Regions from separate parts of the Homo sapiens genome. Here region 1 is linked to region 2. Evidence: promoter capture Hi-C in 16 types of primary human blood cells and fetal thymus (Javierre and others, 2016). All regions are on one chromosome and are shown on one strand. Each heading gives the region's core, a stretch centred on a gene start or on the middle of the fragment in contact. The rest is flanking DNA. Distances are from core to core; before and after follow the strand shown. Region 1 overlaps ZDHHC8 (zDHHC palmitoyltransferase 8). Region 2 holds the start of KLHL22 (kelch like family member 22).

What was found. The method cuts DNA at HindIII sites, captures the fragments that hold promoters and counts their contacts. A CHiCAGO score of 5 or more calls a contact.
Region 1: a fragment that was not itself captured here is called in contact with the fragment with the promoter of KLHL22 in region 2 in 6 of 17 cell types (M0 macrophages, erythroblasts, fetal thymus and 3 more); the score reaches 6.8 in M0 macrophages.

Annotation. Positions count from the first base shown.
Region 1 is chr22:20,137,267-20,141,130 of GRCh38, reverse strand. ZDHHC8 (zDHHC palmitoyltransferase 8) reads right to left here. Exons shown (of 11, transcript NM_013373.4): 2 at 1,816-1,937; 3 at 1,496-1,653; 4 at 1,239-1,411; 5 at 914-1,016; 6 at 423-514; 7 at 119-260. Among named protein-coding and RNA genes, the nearest start is that of ZDHHC8, 7.4 kb to the right of the region's middle. RefSeq lists an enhancer at 2,948-3,547. The HindIII fragment of the contact is 2,442 bases long and covers 163-2,604 here.
Region 2 is chr22:20,493,918-20,498,070 of GRCh38, reverse strand. It overlaps KLHL22 (kelch like family member 22), which reads left to right and starts at 2,276. Exons shown (of 7, transcript NM_032775.4): 1 at 2,276-2,311. It overlaps LOC101928824 (a long non-coding RNA gene), which reads right to left and starts at 2,158. Exons shown (of 4, transcript XR_007068011.1): 1 at 1,384-2,158. RefSeq lists an enhancer at 1,110-1,762 and a silencer at 1,957-2,616. The HindIII fragment of the contact is 9,275 bases long and covers 1-3,309 here.

The sequences.
Region 1 (3,864 bases), core at 134-2,633, 360 kb after region 2:
CCAAGAATCTGTCTACGGCTCTGTCTGCCCCATCCACCTCTTCTAGGCCCCCACCAACCTGCCTGTTTCCCCATCCAAGGGCCTGACTGCCAGCCCATCCCTAAGCCCAGGCGCCCACCTTGCTACGGCCCAGGCCAGCCTTCAGCCCGTTGTCACTAAGCTTGACCTTGAGCGGTGCAGCTCGGTCCAGGAGTTCAGGCCTAAGGAAAGGCGGCTTCAAACTCACCGCGAGCGGCAGCCGGGGTGGCTCCACCACGTACCTGCACCAGGGCACAGGGGTCAGTAGCCAGCCCACCTGCCACAAACACACAAGGGCAGGGCTGGCCATACCTGGCAAGAGCCAAACGGACCAAGAGGGTCTAAGGCTGCCCGCCCCACACCCAGCAGAGGCCCCCCTCCACCCTGCCCAGGCCGGGCCTCACCGGGGCGCCAGGGGGCTACACAGCACGTGCTCCACATTCCCACAGCAGCCTCGGGTGAAAGGGTTCACACCCCCGCGGAACTTCCCAGTCACCTGTGGATGCAGGACCCTCAGCCAGCCTGGCCTCCCAAGGTCCAGGCCAGGGTGGGCAGGGGGCTGGGCAAGGGAGCTGGGGTTCCTTAGAAGCTGATACTTGCGGGAAGTGGCTTAGGTGGGATCAGCCCAGGGCTGCCCCTCACATAGGTTACCCAGCCTGAACTTGCAGGGAGCTGTGGGATTTCTGGGTCACTGGTGGCCACAGTGTCCACAGGCAGGATGTGCGCAGGGGACGGGGCAGGCGTAGCCCCACGTGGGGGTCTCAGAGTTGGAGCCTCGTCTCAACACAGCTGCACAAGCTACCTCAGGCAAGGGTGCCCCAGCCCCCACCCTGTCCCCATGCAGCCCCAACTCTCTCGGCCCTTTGGGGCCACCCATCCCCCATGGGGTCTGCACCTGCTCGTTGGTGGTGCGCCCCCGAGTGACCAGCACCACATGGAAGCCAGTGAGGCCAATGACAGGGATGAAGAAGAGGCCGGCCACACACATGACAGCCATGCTAGCCCGTTAAGGCCAACGGTGCAGGCCAGGACACCGCAGACCCCATCGCAGCAGCACAGAGCAGGTGCCTGTGGACAAACCTCCTCCCAACCTAGGGACGGCCACCTGCCCACTGGGGATCCCTGGGCAGGAACCAAGCCTTCTGAGGCTCAATCTCCCTGGTGAACGTGTCCCCGGTCCACATCGCCTCTGCAATGAGGCCCACAGGAACCAAGGATACGTGATGGTGGTGTGCGCGGCTCCCAGCCCCTCAGCGTGGTTCAGCACGTAGACCAGGCCGAAGGCCACGACGCCCACCATGTGTGCACTGAGTGACAGCAGGAACAGGAAGAAGTAGCGATAGTTTCGACGCCCGATGCAGTTGTTGACCCAGGGGCAGTGGTGGTCAAAGTCCTGGGCGGGAGCAGTGCATCAGGGCACATGGCAGGCAGGGATGTGGCACAGGGCTGGGGGAGCGCGGGGCAGCAGGGCGGTCACCTCTACACAGTTGTCACAGACGCTGCAGTGGGAGCAGCGCGGCGGGCGGTAGAAGTGGCACGTGGCACACCACTTCATGCGGACCTGGATACCTCGCACATCCACGTTCTTGTACAGCGGAGCCCGGAAGTCGTCCTCCTTGTCCTCATCCTCATCCGCTACAGACCAGGAGCCAGGCAGTGAGCAGGAAGTTGACTTTCCTGGCAGGTGAATCCCTCCCCCAAGTCCAGCCCACCCACCAGGAATCCCTAAGGCTGTCTCAAGTTAGCCACTCACACTCTAGTGAAAGTGAGAGGAGCTGCCGCAGCACAGGGCCCTACCTCGGGGGAAAACACCAGGGTCCATGAAAGTGGCCATGCTGAAGTTGGCCAGGACAAAGAGGAAGATGATGCCATTGTAGACGGGAACAGCTGGGGACACAGCTCGTGTCAACCACGGGCACCTGCAGTAGACAGTGGGGGCAGAGAGTGGAGTCTGGGGGTGCAGAGCGGATGCAGGCGCAGAGCTATGTGGTGCGGCAGGCTGGGCCTGCAAGGTCACCCTCAGAGCTCAGAGGCAGTGGGGAGGCTGCCACAGCCCTGCCAAGAAACCTCAGCCACATCGCTCCTTCGAGTAACGGCCAGAGGCTGTGCGTATCAGTACAGCATGTGGGCTACCCGTGCCCTGACCCGGCAACCTCTCAGGGCAGCCGTCTCAGAGAGGCCCACAGACCTAAGGTCACCCCATTCCAGCGACCTAGGCTCCATGACTGGGGCGGGGTAGGGGGCGGGGGCGGTACACAGGCTGGAGGTGGGAGCCCCAGATGGAAAATGCGCCACGATGCCTCATCCAGGCCTGTCCCTGGCCCAGTGGGGCCTCTCACCAGGCAGATTCTGGGGTGTGGGGAGCCCCAGTCCTTGGTCAGTAAGTGCATGGGGCATGTCTCCCCTACTCTTCCCAGTCAGGCACATCCCCATCCAGACAGCCCCTTCTTTTTAGTTTGTCACCTCCCTCCCCAGATGACAAAGTAGAACACTTAGGGACTCTAGAATGCACAACACCCCCCACCACTTCCCATCTTCCCAGCCATCAGCACTTGGCTCCAAGGCCACCCCCTCTTCCGGGAAGCTTTCCAGGACTCCAGGCTGCCCTCTGCAGCTTCCCTATAAGGTGTGCCCTCACACACCTTCCTGAAAGGCGCCTTCCTCAGCCCTTAACGGGCCTGGCCCGAGTCCCCTCTGAAGAGACTTGCCGGTCCTCGGGCCACACGGCCTGCAGCGGGTTCCTAAATCCACCCACTCAGCTTCCAAGAAGCCCCTCTGGCCTCAGGCTCCTTGTCTCTCCCCTGCGCACCCTGAGACAGCTGCTGTGACAAGCAGCAGGGACAGGAACACAGGGGTTTGCGTCCCTCCCTGCACCCAGGCCCTCTGCATAGTCGGGGGGCTAGTGGGGATCCCCCACAGCAGCCCTGACCTCTATGGCCACTAGCAGTGGATGGGGCCCACGCGCTGCCTACCACTCCAGCGCACGTGGCCACGCTGCTGCACCCACGCCCGCCTGGCCAAGAGCCAGCCCCGCCGCCCCGGCAACCACCTCCACGGCAGCAGAGCTTCACTATTTTTAGTGGAAAGCAAGAGGCTATTTAAAGACTCCGCTTCCCACGACAGCCATCCTCGGCGGGGCTGGGAGCCCAAGTTACCCTTCCTCTTGTCCAGGGCCCAGCCCGTGGAGGTAGACACCAGGGTGAGGACACAGCTGCGGCCACACCTCCCTCTGCTGGGAGGGCTCTCCCTGTCCCTGCCCAGTGGCTCAGCCCCCAGGCTTCCTTCCACCCTCCCCAGCCCTGCCTGGCACACAGGCAGCACTCAAACATGTGCCTGGCCTCCAATGCAACGCCATTCAGCCAGGACCACAGGCCCCTAAGGCAGGGTCGGCCCAACAAGATGGGCACAGGCAGGTGAGCAGCTCCCCCAGGGAGAGGCAGGGCCTGTGGAGCTCTCCACGAGCCTTCTGGGGAAGGCTGGCTACATAGTCTGTGCAAAATGAAACTGCGGGCCCCTTATTTAAAAATTACAGAGAATTTCAAGATGTTGACAGCGGAGCATTAAACCAAACGCAGGCCCTCATGATGCCCGTGGGGCTGGCCTGCTCTGGGAAGGGATGCGGCGAGTGCCATTGGTCAACCCTCGGGCTGCAAGGAGGCAGCCTCTGTCCTCCCAGTGCTGACCTCAGGATGGAAGCCTCGGGGCCCCTCTGCACCTGCGCTGGCTGCCAGCCTGCCTCCTGGCCCTAACGGGGGCCTTGGGGGTGTGTTCGCCCATCAGGCAGGCGGGGCCTGAACCCCATGCTGACTTGAGCTCCCTGCCAGCCCAAGCAGGCGGTACTGCTGT
Region 2 (4,153 bases), core at 1,027-3,526:
TTTGGGGGTACCGACATTCAGACCACAGTGGCCTTCTTGTTGCTGCCCCAGGATTCCTTTTCCTCTCCTCTCTGGGTCCACCCGTACACCTGGTCCCATTGGGCCTTGGAGGTCAGTCTTCCCCTACCTGGAGCCAAGGGGGGCCTCATCTTCCCCCAGACCTGCTCTTGCTCTGGCTCCCCTGTAGGCAGGGTGGGCCTACTTCCCCACCCATCTCCTGGGCTCATTCTTCACACATCACTGGGCTTATACTGGGGAACCTGCTTCCTTCCCAGGTTTCTAGCCTGCTCCACTCTGGTCTTCACTCCCTGCCTGAGACCACAGCACTGTGGCTGGCTCCCTACTCAGTCTTCGTCTCTACCATATTGGCATCTGCCCACCCTGGCTACAGGGTGCCCTCAGGGCTAAGTCAAGCCTCCAAAGGGCAGGGTCTGCTCTCCAACCTTCCCTTCAGGCTCAGAAAATTCTGGAAACCTCCACACCACTCACTTTGAAGGATCTCACCTCCACGTTTGCTGACACTGTCGGCTTCCTGGAATGCTTTTCTTAATCCCAAAGTCCTCCTCTGTTACACAGTAGGGGGGTCTCCTCCAGAAAGTCTTTCTAGGAGGAAGCCCACTCCCATTTGGAACCTCTGCCTCTGGAGGCCAATCCCGTTCTCTTGATCCTTGTCTGGGACCCTCAGTTATCTCTCTGGACTCAGCCAGGACAGCAATTCTCTTCCGTGTATTTTCCTCCTTTTACATTCCCCTTCCACCAATTTTTTTTTTTTTTTTTTTTTTTTTTTTTGAGACGGAGTCTCGCTCTGTCACCAGGCTGGAGTGCAGTGGCGCGTGATCTCGGCTCACTGCAACCTCTGCCTCCCGGGTTCAAGCGATTCTCCTGCCTCAGGCTCCCGAGTAGCTGGGACTACAGGTGCGCGCCACCACGACCGGCTAGTTTTTTTGTGTGTGTTTTGGTAGAGATGGGGTTTCACCATGTTGGCCAGGATGGTTTCCATCTCCTGACCTCGTGATCCGCCCGTCTCGGCCTCCCAAAGTGTTGGGATTACAGGCGCCAGCCACCAAGCCCGGCCCCACCTTTCTTTTTAACCATGAGCCATCTCCAGCCACATCCTCCCCCTACCACTCTCTCCACCCTTCACAGTCCCTCTCAAAACCACAGTGTGGGACACTCCAACCTTATCCCATCAGGAGGCTCTGTGGCTCCAAGCTCTGGGCGCAGCCATTACGGATACGCCTCGGAGGATGGGACCTGCTCGAAGGTGAGGTGGAGAACAATGAATGCCAAGACCCGCGCACGGACCTCTGGGACCAGGCTTTAAGACTGGGAATTAGATTTACTGCAAAATCTCAGTAAAGGAACGGGCACACAAACTAGCACCTGTTCACTCTGGCGGTGTTAAGCGATTCTCCCCGATATCCCGCAGGGGGCGCGCTACGGTCAGCGGCACCGACCGCGGAGGGAGCGGGGAAGGAGCAGGCCGCGGGAGGGAGGGAATGAGCGCGTGACGAAGGGAACAAGTGGAGGAGAGGAGGAAAGAAGGGAATCAAAGAGGGAGGGAGGCAATGGGAGAAGAGGAGAGGGAGGGAGGGAAAGAAGGGGGGAAATGAGACAGGGAGGGAAGGAATGAGAGAGGGAGGAGAGAACGAGAGTTAAGGAGGGAGGGAAAGGGAATGAGAGAGGGAGGGGATGAGAGGGGGAGACAGGGAGGGAGTGAATGAGTGAGGGAGGAAGGGAATGGTGGGTAAGATAGGAAGGGAAGGAATGAGAGAGTGAAGGAGGGAGGGAATGAGAGGGGGGGAGTAAGAGAGGAGAGAAGAGAGTGAAGAAGGGAATGAGGAAAGGAGAGGGAGGATATGAGCGGGGAGGGAGATAGTGAGGAAGGGCAGGAGGAAGTGAGTCGAGGAATGAGGGTAGGACCGAGGCAAGGAAAGAGTCAATGGATTCAGACGGGGCGACTCTCGGCAAATTCGCTCATTCGTTGGTTCGGCCCCGCCAAGTGCCAGGTGCCGCGCTAGTGCGGGGACTCACTGAGCCTTGGCGATCGCTGCTGTCCTCCGCAGAGCGCCGGAGTGGAGCCGCCCCCTGTCTCCCCGCCCCAGGGCCGCCCCCGCGCTGCTACCCGGCCAGGCCGGGAACCCCCGGGCCTACGTCTGGCCCGCCCGGCGCCTGCGCGGCGCACCCACGTGACGGCCCAGGCCCCCGCCCCGCCGGCTCCTCTCGCCCAGCCTCCCGCCTCGCGCCTCCCGCCTCCCGCCTCCCGCCTCCCTCCAGCTGCGAGTGCGGCCTCGGCTGGCGGCGGCACCAGGTCAGCTGCGAGGCGTGAGCCGAACGGGCCGGGCGGCAGCGAACGCGGGGGTCGGGCGGCAAGCAGGCATCGCTGGGCCGGGGACAAGCTAGCGGCGCGGAGTCCGAGGGGCGCGGGGGCGGGCGCGGGCCGGAGGCTCGGGGGCGGCGACCTGAGGAGAGCCCGCGGCCTGACGTGGCGGGGACGCGGCCGGCGGGATCCCCGGGCGCGGGCGCGTAGGGGCCGGGATCTGGCGCTCGGCCAGGGGCCAGGGTGCGAGGCCTCCTCAGCGCGGCTGCTGGCGCGCCGGCCTCCTGGCACCCGGGCGGGCCCTGTTGCCTGCGGCAGGTCCGAATGCGGCCTTCCTGGCCGCGACCCTCCGCGCTGGAGCGGGCGGCCTTGCAACAGGCGGGCGATTTGGGGCCGGCCTGACGAGCCTCAGTTCCCTCGATCGGGCCCGGGGACTGCAGCCGTAGGAGCCCAGCCTTGCCAGCTCTCCCGGTTTCCTGAGAGGAGCCGGAGATCGCGCTGTCAGTGCAAAATCACCAGAGCGCGAAGCGTCGGCTGCCAGTTCTGACCATTTTAGATCCGGTGCGGGCCGAGCCGAGTGGATCTGGGGCGGGCAGCGGGGCACCGCCACCTTCCGCCTGGGCTCCTCACTGGGCGCCCTCGCTCCGGCCCTCCGCGGGGCCGAGTGCCTCCAAGACGGCTCCCTGGGAGATTCTTCCAGAGCGCACCCTTTGGAAGGCTGCCCCGCTGGGAATCAGCACCCACTCCCTCTCCTCTACCGCAGCCGCCCCCTTTGCCTTTGTGGCCGACCTTGCTTCATGCTGCCAAGGATTGAGTTTCTTTGAGGGGATACTGCTCGTTCGGGGGCCCTACAGAAGGCTGAGGGTATCTACTCAGTAAAATCGTACCGAACTGAAAGTTCCTCTGAAATGATTTTGACTCTGCCATCCATCACTTCATAAAAATTCATCTTGTATCCTTCAGTTTGTAGCTATGTGGCACATTAAGCTTCCTTTCTTCTCCCCACTGAAACTTCGAACAGTACAAAACGGGGAACTTGGCTTGTGATGACTAAAATTGGGGATATGAGACTGGGGGCGGGCGCGGTGGCTCATGCCTGTAATCCCAGCACTTTGGGAGGCCAAGGCTGGCAGATCACCTGAGGTCAGGAGAGACTAGCCTGGCCAACATGGTGAAACCCCGTCTCTACTAAAAATACAAAAATTAGCTGGGTGTGGTGACACGTGCTTGTAATCCCAGCTACTCGGGAGGCTGAGGTAGGAGAATCGCTTGAACCCAGGAGATGAAGGCTGCAGTGAGCCAAGACCCTACCACTGCACTCTAGCCTACACCATATAGTGAAACCTCTTCTCTACAAAGAAAATTTGAAAAATTAGCCGGGCGCAGTGGTGAGCTCCTGTTGTTCCAGCTTCTGAGGAAGCTGAGGTGGGAGGATCACTTGAACCTGGGAGCTTGAGACTGCAGTGAACCCCAAGCTGTCTCACCCCAGATAGCCAGGACTACAGGTGTACACCACCATGCCTAGTTAATTTTTAAATTTTTTGTAGAGAAAGGGTCGCGCTATATTGCCCAAGGTGGTCTTGAACTCCACCTACCTGGACCTCCCAAGGCACTGGGATTACAGGCATGAGCCACCATGCCCAGCCTACTTTGCACTTTTTTTTTTGGGGGGGGGGCAAAGTCTGGCTCTGTCGCCCAGGCTGGAGTGCAATGGCACAATCTTGGCTCACTGCAACCTCCACCTCCTGGGTTCAATCGATTCTCCTGCCTCAGCTTCCCCCTTCCTCAGCCTTCCCAGTAGCTGGGATAACAGGCATGCGCCACCACGCCCCA